Linked DNA regions of Homo sapiens: all the other regions are linked to region 1. The links are contacts of gene promoters, found by promoter capture Hi-C in human tissues and cell types (Jung and others, 2019). All regions are on one chromosome and are shown on one strand. Each heading gives the region's core, a stretch centred on a gene start or on the middle of the fragment in contact. The rest is flanking DNA. Distances are from core to core; before and after follow the strand shown.

What was found. Contacts are between HindIII fragments. The study calls those that stand out against the background at their distance.
Region 2: a contact is called between a fragment that was not itself captured here and the fragment with the promoter of CRLF1 in region 1, in 2 of the 25 tissues and cell types used here (lymphoblastoid cells and spleen).
Region 3: a contact is called between a fragment that was not itself captured here and the fragment with the promoter of CRLF1 in region 1, in 1 of the 25 tissues and cell types used here (lymphoblastoid cells).

The regions. Positions count from the first base shown.
Region 1 is chr19:18,604,752-18,608,413 of GRCh38, forward strand. It overlaps CRLF1 (cytokine receptor like factor 1), which reads right to left and starts at 2,048. Exons shown (of 9, transcript NM_004750.5): 1 at 1,791-2,048. The coding sequence starts at 1,905. RefSeq lists an enhancer at 1,170-2,088. The HindIII fragment of the contact is 9,492 bases long and covers 1-3,662 here.
Region 2 is chr19:19,037,683-19,041,344 of GRCh38, forward strand. The region is part of intron 2 of ARMC6 (armadillo repeat containing 6); the gene reads left to right. Among named protein-coding and RNA genes, the nearest start is that of ARMC6, 5.9 kb to the left of the region's middle. The HindIII fragment of the contact is 5,677 bases long and covers 1-3,662 here.
Region 3 is chr19:18,997,687-19,001,348 of GRCh38, forward strand. The region is part of intron 8 of SUGP2 (SURP and G-patch domain containing 2); the gene reads right to left. Among named protein-coding and RNA genes, the nearest start is that of SUGP2, 34 kb to the right of the region's middle. The HindIII fragment of the contact is 7,801 bases long and covers 1-3,662 here.

The DNA.
Region 1 (3,662 bases), core at 798-3,297:
CTCCCCAAAGCAGATCCCTAGGTTGGGCTTTTGAACAGCTCCCTTTTCACTCCCTGCCTCCCCTCCTTTCCCGCAGAGCTGGGGCCTTTAAAAGTTTTTTCTCTCCTCTTTTCCCAATCTGGAGCCACTGCCGTTATTAAAAAGGAACACCATGTGTTTTAAAAGGGAAAAGTGTGAGATTCTCTGCAAGCAGGGCGGAAGGGTGGCCTCCATCCCAGGGTCCCCACGGGGGTCCCCATCTCCCGTCCCGCTGGTACCTGCAGACACTTTACGACCCACCCGCCTGCTGGTCAGGTGCTAAGACACACCGTAAGTAGAAACATATTGCCGAGGTGTGAGAATCTTTTATTTAATTTCTTCCCCCCTTAAAGGAAAAAACACACTTACAGTGCCCCCCCACCCCCTACACCTTCGCCTGCTGCTCTACTGGCTGAAAACAAAGCTTGGCGCTCACAGTGGCACTCACAGGCGCTGCCCACCGCCTGGCAGAGCCGTCAGGGGCCCTGGGAGGGCCCGAGGTAGCCCCTCACCTGAAAGCCAGGGGAGAGCCAGGCTTTCAGCAAGTGCCCCTAGAAGATGCCCGGACCCTGCCCCTTCCCGGAGGAGCCCTACAGGCAGCCCGCAAACAGCCCAGCACAGGGTGGATGAGCCTGGGAGCAGTGTGTGCCCGGCGACCCCCGGGGTGGCCCGTGCGCCTGGATGGGGTGCGTGGAGTGACTGAACATCTGGGGCGAGTGGTGCCTGCCTCTGTGCCCCTGGGTCGCCTCCCCTGTGGGATGTGTGTGACCGTGAATGTGTGTGTCGGGGATGGAATGTGTGTGCGTCCGCGATGGTGCGCGAATGTGCACCTGGGATGCAGTGTGCGCGAGTTTGAGGGCGAGGGTGACGGGCCACAAGCCAGTGTGATTCTTTGTGTGTCTCTGGGTGTGTCCCAGAGCGGGTCTGCATACGGAGACGTATCCTTGCGGGGGTGTTCCTTGGATGGGGGGCCCCAGAGTGCCTGAGGCCAGAAGTCCCTCCAGGGCAGGGGTCTTGGCCCGTAGGGCAGCGGGTTCCCAGTGGGCCCCCTCAAAGTTTGGGCCCGCTGGTGCCCGGACTCACTGGCTCCCGCTCCCTCTCCCTCTCACCCACTCGCTCACAAAGATTCCTCTCGCTGGAGGCTCTCCGCCCGACGCAGCCTGGCTGAAAACGGTTCTAAGCGCCGCCGGTGGCGGGGACTCCGCGGACCCCCGTGCGCCGGGTCCCGCAGGGGGAGGGCGGTGGCGCCGGCCCGTGGAGACACAAGTCCCCCGGGACCCCGGGCTGCGCGCCAGGCGGCCAGAGCGGCCCCCCTGCAGCCCCGCCCTCCCCGTGGGGCTCATCCCTCCGCCTGGGGGGGCCCGCTGGGGGCCCGCACCCAGCGCGCCAACCGCGTGCGCCCCCGCCTGGGAGCGGTGCCCTGCAGTCCCAGGGGCCCAGAGTCCACCGAAGCAGACGCGTGCGCCCGCCACGTCCTGGCATGCAGAGGGTCTCAGGCCGCGATCCCCCCAGCCCCCGGGGGCCTGGCCTGGCGCCCTCGGCCCAGCTGCCCAGGTAACAGGGCCTCGGGCGCGGAAGCAGGACTCTCTGGACAGTGGACTGCGGCGCCGTGTGCCCCGCAGGTGAGGGCGCCCCGAGGGCTGCGCCGGGGGCGCCTTCCTTTGTTCCCCGGCCGTCCAGGTGGCGCCCGCGCCCCCTCCCCCCGCGGCTGCCCCCGGGGCGCCCGCCCTCTGCTCTGGCAGGGGGGAAGGAGTGGGGCGCCGGGTACTCACGGGCTCCTGATCCGGCTCGCGGCGCCCCGAGGACGCAGAGCAGCAGCAGCAGGGGCAGCAACGGCGGCGGCCGCCGCGCGGATTGGGCGGCGGGGCCCCGGCGGCCGGCGGGCATGGGGCCGGCGCTGCCGGGGGCGCGCGGCGGGCTGCGGCTCGGCGGCGGTGGCGCAGGGCGCGGGACGCAGGCCGGGCGCGGGAGGGCGCGGGCCAGGCCGCCCGCACGTCGCTGGGCGCGGACGCGGAGGCCGGAGCAAGTCTGAGCAGCCGAATTGACAAGGCGCTAATGCGCCGCTGGCCCCGCCCGGCCCCGCCCCCGGCCCGGCCCGGCCCCGGGGGGGCGGCGGGCCCCGCACCGGCCTCCCCGCCGCCCGCCCGCCCGCGGGCACCGCGCGCCCCGCCCGTCCCGCCTCCGCCCCACCGAGAACCGCGCGCGCCCTATCCCGCGGCCCAAAGCCCCCTAACTCAACCCCTACCGGCCCAGGACCTCCCTCTCCAACCCTGCCAGCTCCAGGCTTCCCACCCCCAGTCTGGGACCCGGCACCCCCAATCCCGTTTCCATAACCCTGCCCACTTCCCTGCACCCTCCTCTCAGCCCAGTGCCTCTTCAGTGGCCCCTTTGGTCCCCAACCCTGCCCCACTCCTCCATTCCCCCTTCCACGGCCCAATCTTCTGTCTCGGCCCCCACCCCAGCTCTGGCCCCGCCCCCCCCACCGAGCGGTCCTTGAGTCCCGCCTACCCCCATCTCCAGCCCCTCAGCCTTCCCAGGGGCCTAAAAGTCACCCCCAGCCCCACGCCCTCGGCGCGCGGGTTCCAGCCCTCCCACCTCATCCTGCCTCTTTTCGATTCTCCGCGAGTAGCCTCGGCCCCAGGCTTTGCTGGAAGAAAGGAGAAAAAGCAGGAAGGCACGGAGTCCCTCGCCTTCGCCCTGGCTGCGCTGTCCCCTTCGCGCGCGGGATGGGTTTGAGGTTGCTCTGGGCGCCCCGGGGGCCTCGGGAGGGAGCTCCTGCGTGGGCAGACGGGGAGATGTAGTCCCCTGTGGGAGCCGGGACCCAGGCCTGCGCGGGAACTGGGTCCCGCACCGCAGTAAGAGGGATTCCCAGGAGGAGAGCGGTAAGAAGCTCTTTCCCCGGGACCTATTCACACCCCGCCACGGAAAAATCCACTCAGCGGCCCGCGGGTGGGGTGCGCCACGCGGTGAGTAATCGCTTCGGCGGCCACCGCCCGCCGACTCCAGGTAACGCCGGCTGCCCGGAGCGACGCATAGTTTGTCTTCCTTCTTTTGCGCAAAGAGCCTTCTCCGTGTTATTATTTTTGGCCATTGCTCGAGTTTCGGGACCCCTCCCGGTCCGGGCGTCTCATCTCCCTCCTCCCGGTCCCCACCCGATGCGGGCGCCCAGGAATAAAGGGTTCCTGGCCTCCAAGGCTGCTGCGGATGGGGGTGCCTGAAATGAGAGTTGGGGGGTGCAATTACCCACTTTTGGTCGCAGCCCCGCCCCCAGCTGCAGCGCCCAGGGAAGGGAACGGCTCCAAGTCCCCTTTTCCAGGAGTCCCTTAGAGGCCTGGATTCTCTCTCCTGGTCCCCAACCAGCCAAGGGGGTAAAAGTGTCTGAGGGGGGCTCAGGAGCCCCCATTTGTCTGCCCAAGACTGAAGCCCCACCCTCTCCTACTTAAATCTCCAGTTCAGACTCCAGACTGTCAAAAAACAAGATTGGGGGATGGGAGCCTATAGGGGCCCAGGGCGCCCCTGCTCCATCTGAATTCTGGATGGAGAAGACAGACAAGGAGAGACGCTGCCATTTACTTCGGGAAACCAGGCCTTTTGTGCCTCAGTTTCTTCCTCTGCACAGTGGGCACCACCCAGTCTAGGAGCTT
Region 2 (3,662 bases), core at 779-3,278, 430 kb after region 1:
ACTTGATATTACTGCAATAAGCAAGGTGGATATATTGAAACAATTAAAATTTAAAAAGTTGTTAACCTCTGTTAGGCTCTGGACCTAAGGCCTGTTCCTCCTTTTGTTCCAAAGGGACGGTGGCAAATGTTAGGTTCACTCGTACCCTGTCAAGACCTTCTGGTTAAGATCATCTACAGCAGGGGTCCCCAATTCCTGGGTCACAGACCCATACTGGTCCAGTGGTCCCTGGCCTGTTAGGACCTGGGCTGCACAGCAGGAGGCAAGCGTAGGGTGAGCGAGTGAAGCTTCATCTGTATTTACAGCAACTCCCCATCACTTGCATTATGCCTGAGCTCTACCTCCTGTCAGATCAGCAGCATTAAATTATAGGAGCACGAACCCTACTGTGAACTGCACATGCAAGCGATTTAGGTTGGGCACTCCTTATGAAAATCTAATGCCTGATGATCTGTCACTATCTCCCATCACCCCCAGATGGGACTGTCTAGTTGCCAGACAACAAGCTCAGGGCTCCCACTGATCCTACATTACAGTGAATAGTATAATTATTATATTACAATGTAACAATAATAGAAATAAAGTGCACAATAAATGTAATGAGCTTGAACAATCCTGAAACCATCCCCACCCTAGCCCCACCATATCCATGGAAAAATTGTCTTCCACGAAACTGGTCCCTTAGGCTAAAAAGGTTGGGACTGCTGAGCTACAGGTTTGAAACAGAATTGCAAAGGGATTTGGTGTTTTTACCAAGAGTTTTATCTTACTTAACTCTATGTCTTGTTCCCACCTGTCAGAGTGGAAGGTACTGCCCAAGGTTAGTGGGTCATCTAAGTGTTGATACCTACCCCTGGTTTCCAGGGTATGCCTATACTGGGTTTTACTTGTTTGTTTATTTATTTATTTTTTGAGACGAAGTCTTGCTCTTGTTGCCCAGGCTGGAGTGCGATGGCGTGATCTTGTCTCACTGCAACCTCCACCTCCCTGGTTCAAGCCATTCTCCTGCCTCAGCCTCCCGAGTAGCTGGGATTACAGGCGCCCCACTAATTTTTGTATATTTAGTAGAGACGGGGTTTCGCCATGTTGGTCTTGAACTCCTGACCTCAGGTGATCTGCCTGCCTTGGCCTCCCAAAGTGCTGGTATTACAGGCATGAGCCACCATGCCTGGCCTTACTTGCTTATTTTTATTTTATAAGGTGGGTTTGTGTGTATACACACACACACACACACACACACACACATTTTTTTTAAGAGATATGGTCTCACTGTGTTGCCGCAGGCTGGTCTCAAACTCCTGTGCTTGAGTGATCCCCCCGCCTTAGCCTCCCAAGTTGCTGAGATTACAGGCACAAGTCATTGCTCAGTTCTTTTTGTTTTTAAACAGATTAGCACTTTAAGAAATTGAGCTATAATTTACATACCATAATATTCACTCATTTGATTTAGTAATTTTTTTTTTTCTTCTGGAGACATGGTCTCCCTCTGTCATCCAGACCGGAGTGCAGTGGCCCAGTCACAGCTCACTGCAGCCTTGAACTCCTGGGCTCAAATGATCCTCCTGCTTCAGCCTCCCGAGTAACTTCAACCACACGCAAATGCCACCACACCTGACTATATTTTTAAATTTTTTTGTAGAGACGGGGCCTTACTATGTTGTCCTTGCTGGTCTCAAACTCCAGACTTGAAACAGTCCTCCCACCTTGGCCTCCTAAAGCACTGGGATCACAGGTGTGAGCCACCATGCCTGGCCTGATGTAGTGATTTTACGTTTTCACAGAGTTGTACAACCATCATCACTATAATTCAAGAACGTTTTCATCACCCAGAAGGAAACCCTATACCCATTAGAAGTTACTCCCCATTCCCTCTCCTCCAGTCCCTGGCAACACCCAGTCTGCTTTTTGTGTCTGTGGATTTGCCTGTTCTGGATATTTCATGTCATTGGAATCGTGCAATATGAGGCTTTTCGTGTCTGGCTTCTTTGACGAGACATCATGTTTTTGAGGTCTATCTCCATTGTAGCATGCTTCAGCACCTCATTCCTTTCTCTGGCTGAGTAATATACCACCATGCGCACAGACCATTTTATCCATTCATCTGTTGGTAGACTCCGTCTCCTTTTCTTTGTTCTTGTGATTTATTTGTTGAAAACTCTGGGTGTTTGTCCTCTAGTTGACATTCTCTTCCCTAGTAGGGATTTTGCAGATCACATCCCCATGGTGTTGGTTAAGGTGTCAGAGCTGTGCTGTGCAATACCATAGTCACTCGTCACACATGGCTATTTACATTAACAAATTAAAATGAAATAAAATTACACACTCAGTTCCTCAGCCACACTGCCACACTTCAGCTGTGTGATAGCCACAGAGGCCAATGGCTTCTGTACTAGGCAGTGCAGATAGAGAACGTTTCATCATAGCAGGAAGTGCCCTGAATGCATGATCAGATTCGGGTTTGAGATTTTGGCACGATGACTTCACAGGTGCATTTTGTTCTTGTTCAGGAGGTAGGTGTTGCTGGTTTCTCTTGATGATGTGAGATCAAGCAGTAGACTGAGTTCCTGTCTACCCCTTGTTGGGCTCCCATCAGTTTTACACCTGATGGTTTTGGATCCTGTGGGATCATTATCTGTTTCTCTCCTGTCACAGCTGATCAGCTGGAATCGGAAGCAGAACTTTTCCTCATCCTCTTTTTATAACCTGGGACTCATTTGTACAAGGGAGGCAGGTTAAGTGCTAGGTTTTTTTTAAAAAAATTGTTACTAATTATTGTAGAGACAGTGTCTCGCTACGTTGGCCAGGCTGGTCTTGAACTCCTGGATTCAAGTGATCCTCCCATCTCAGCCTCCTGAGTAGTAGCTGGGAGTACAAGAGCATGCCACCACTCCCTGCCAAGAGCTGGATTCTTGGCCAGTTTTCAGAAGCCTGAGCTGTATTTGTTTTAGTATTATGAAAGCACAGAGTTTGACTTTTTTTTTTTTTTGCAACATCGTCTGACTGTCAGCCAGGCTGGAGTGCAATGGCATGATCTCGGCTCACTGCAACCTCCGCCTCTGTGCTCAAGTGGTTCTCCTACCTCGGTCTCCCTGATTGCTGGGATTACAGACGTGAGCCACCACACCTGGCCCAGATTTTGATTTTGATATGTACTGGATTTTTTTTTAATGCTCACTTGTCTCATCTGTAGCTACCAGGCATCCCTTAGGGTTTGGAAGCTTCCTTGCTTCCTGGTCTCACAAGACCCCAGCGTTACCTGCCCCATGACCTGCTGGGACTTGGAATCAGCCATTCCTCCAGAAGCCCTGGCTCCTTGTTTTTAAAGATTTTATGTAGAGACAGGGCCTCCCCATGTTGTCCAGGCTAGTGTTGAACTCCTGGCCTCAAGCCATCTTCCTGCCTCAGCCTCCCAAAGTGCTGGGATTACAGGAGTGAGCCACCTAGCCCTGGCCCCAGCTCCTTTTCGTGGGAAATGGTAGAAACCATACATGGTGTTAGAGGTATTCAGTGCTCCTGTGCTGTCATTTCTCCTAGGCATTTTTAGTTGCTATGACTAGAAAATTAGATCTTTGTTTACCTAAGAGAAAACACATGATGGGTTTATATGGATATTCCCATTTCATATATAGGAGTTCTGAGATTTTTTTTCTCAACTTTATCGA
Region 3 (3,662 bases), core at 585-3,084, 390 kb after region 1:
GCAGGAGAATCCCTTGAACCTGGGAGGCAGAGGTTGCAGTGAGTTGAGATCATGCCATTGCACTCCAGCCTTGGCGACAAAGGGAGACTCCGTCTCAAAAAAAAAAAAAAAAAAAAAGAAAGAAAGAAAGAAAGCGATACCCCGAATTATAGCACTTTGACAGGTGGGACTAAAGTAGCAGCCTCAAGGTCCCTCCCAAAGCACAGGAGGAAGCTGTTTTCTTCAAGTTCCCTATCTACCTAGAAACTGGACTTGCCAAAGAAGAACACAAGGGCCTTGGATCCCTTCCCTGAAATGTCATTAACCAGAGTTGAAAACTCCTATCACACAAGAAGAGATGGAACATTAAACACCACACCTAGAGCCCAGACCACTGGCTGTTCTCTAGTCCCATTCAATTCTCAATGAGGATCATTCACAAGATGATGCCTGCCTCCATTCATCTCTCCTAAAATCATCTGCTTCCCCTCTAAAGTTACCTACAGCCTCCCATCTGCCCTCTCCCCTACAAAGAGGTATTTCAGCTTCAACCACCTGGCCCTTCTTTGAGTTTTCATAATGTTTTATATGGCTCCTGTGCTTATGCACGTGAATAAATATGTATAACTTTTTTGTTTCAAGACAGGATCTTGCTCTGTCACCCAGGCTGGAGTGCAGTGGCTCCATCATGGCTCACTGCAGTCTTGAACTCCCGGGCTCAAGTGATCCCCCTGCCTTGGCCTTCCAAAGTCCCGGGATTACAGGTGTAAGCCACCGCACACCTTTTTTTATCCTGTTAATCTTCTTATTGTCAGTTCATTTCAACAGGCTTAGACTTGGACCTTCAAAGGCGGAGGGAAATTCCCTTTGTTCTCTTCAGAGGCATCTCCGAGGGTATTATATAAAGTAGCTGTGTGTGTGTATGCATGTGTGTGTGCGTGTGTGTATGCATGTGTGTGTGCATATGCGTGCACATGTGTGTATCTTGTGTGTGTGCGTGAGTTACTGGATGCAGGCGGCCCCTCCATAATGGCATGAGGTGGTCTTGGTGAGGCGGTGTGGGCAGAAGTGTCTCTGCAGGGCAGTTAAGGAGGGGAGGTATGAAGGGAGGAGCTATGCTATGGGCTGGGACAGGAAGAGGGGCACAAACAGTGAAGAGACACCCCTGCAAACCAGGGGACACCAGACAGGACCTGCTACACTGGGGGGCCCCTTGCCATGAGAAAGTGGCCTGGAGAAAAGAGGTGACAGAACCCACCGGCTGAGATGAGAAACGGGGCATCCGTCAGGCCCTTCTGGGAGCTGTGCACGACCTGGGCCCTGGGATGACGGGTAGGGAAGGAAGGGGAAAGGCTGGTCATGGCAGGGCACAGGGGTCCCCAGAGGGCAGGTCTGTACTCTTTTCCCTTTCAGGAAGGCTGCTTGGAGGTGCAGTGGGAGGAAGAGGGTTTGGCTCAGCCTGGAAGTTTCTTCGTGAATGTTCAAATCTGTGTTTAACAATCATGATGGTGGTTTCCTGGACAGCTGGAGGAAAGCCAAGCCCTGTGGGCGAGGTGGAGGTTTGCAGAGGAAAGCTGCAGCCACCACGGCCTCCCTTCCACCCACAGTCACTGGCAGACAGGAGGACAGGTGCAGAGCCCCAAGGAGACAGCAGCATGTGCAGGACACCCACCAGGAACCGCGTTCAGTTTAATCCTCACTGTACCTCCTACCTGCTGGGTAAGTGTGGCCATCCCATTTTACAGACAAATCCGTGGCTCAGGGGTTACACGCCAAGGTTACAAAACTACTCGGTGGCAGGGCTGAGCTAGAGTACAGCTGTGCCTGACACCAAGGTCCTGCTGTGCCCTCATCTGGCCGTGCCCTTATCCAGGCCACACCAAGGGGCACCAGATGCCAGCTCAGCCTAAAACCTGGCACATCAGTAAGGACTATGAGCTCTGGACTCGGGAAGGTCCCTCCTTCCTGCCATAATTGGGGTCAGACTGACCTAGGTCACTCGGAAGGGGTTGGAAGCAACATGGCACTGCCTGACACCAGCAGAGCGATCTCGCCTGGCTCCCCGCCCTCCTCCCTGACCATGAAGGACTGGTGAAGTCTCTCCACATGTGTCCCAGGTGACCCTGCTTGCCCCCAGCACTGTGTCCCCCAGGCCATCTGGAGTGTACCTGCCCCCTTTCCATAACCTGGCTCCAGGTCAGTGAATGGCAGTTCTGTCCCTCTTCTGCCCAAGCTGACAACCCTGGGGTCATCTGGACTCCTGGCTTTTGCACACCCAGCCCACAAGCAGGTGTCACCCACTCCATCTTCTCCCCTTCTCATTGCTCCTCATGCCCTGGTCCAACTGTCTTAAGTTTGAGCCTCCTCCTGGTTCCCGCCCACAGGCTGCTCTCCACCCTAGTGGCCACATCCACCACAGGTCCCAGAGGTACCCTCCCTTCCCTGAGAAAGGGCCACAGCGTTAACATCTGTTGAGGTCCTGTGTGACCACCCCCCGGATTCCTCTGCTGCCACAAAGGCCTCTTGCTGCCCCAGCCTCTCTACCGAGGCTGTGCCCTTCTCAGATCTCTACACTGTTTCTCCTCAGCTCCTCCAGGCTTGTGCCAACGTCATCTGCAAGAGAGACCTCCCTTGGCTTTCCCAATTCAGCGGCATCCCCTCGACCCCACCTTATTCTCCCTCTCTTTGACCTGCTTCTCTTTGCCCACAGCATCCCCAGGACTGCCTCATCCATTTCTCTTTCACTGTTGGCCCTGCTTGCTGCTGCCTCCAGGTGGACAGTCGGGACCTGGCACGTAGGAGGTGCTGACCGCACACACCACGCTCTGCTTACTAGCAGATTAGTGAACTCTCTTCACCACCCTTCCAGTCTACTAAGCTTGTAAGTTTTTATGTTTTATTTTTTAAGGAGACCAGGAGGAGACATAGGTCTCACTATGTTGCCCAGGCTGGCCTCAAACTCCTGGGCTCAAGTGATCCCCCTGTCTTGGCCTCCCAAAGCACTGGGATTACAGGCGTGAATCAGTGCACCTGGATAACTTGAACTTTTTTTTTTTTTTTGAGACAGGCTCTCAGTCTGTCGCCCAAGCTGGGGTGCAGTGGTGCAATCAGCTCACTGCAGCCACGACCTCTCAGGCCCAAATGATCCTTCCACCTCAGCCTCCAGAGTAGCTGGGACTACAGGCATGCACCACCATGCCCAACTAATTTTTGTATTTTTTGCAGAGACAGGGTTTTGCCTATTGCCCAGGCTGGTCTTAAACTCTTGGACTCAAGCGATCTGCCCACTTTGGCCTCCTAAACTGCTGGGATCACAAGTGTAAGACACCCAATCGGCCTTAGCTTGAACTTCTTTTTTTTTTTTTTTTGAGACGGAGTCTCACTCTGTCGCCCAGGCTGGAGTGCAGTGGCGCGATCTCGGCTCACTGCAAGCTCTGCCTCCCAGATTCATGCCATTCTCCTGCCTCAGCCTCCTGAGTGGCTGGGACTACAGGCGCCTGCCACCATGCCCGGCTAATTTTTTGTATTTTTAGTAGAGACGGGGTTTCATCGTGTTAGCCAGGATGGTCTCGATCTCCTGACCTTGTGATCCACCCGCCCTCTGCCTCCCAAAGTGCTGGGATTACAGGCGTGAGCCACCACACCTGGCCTAGCTTGAACTTCTTAAGGGCCAAGACATTATC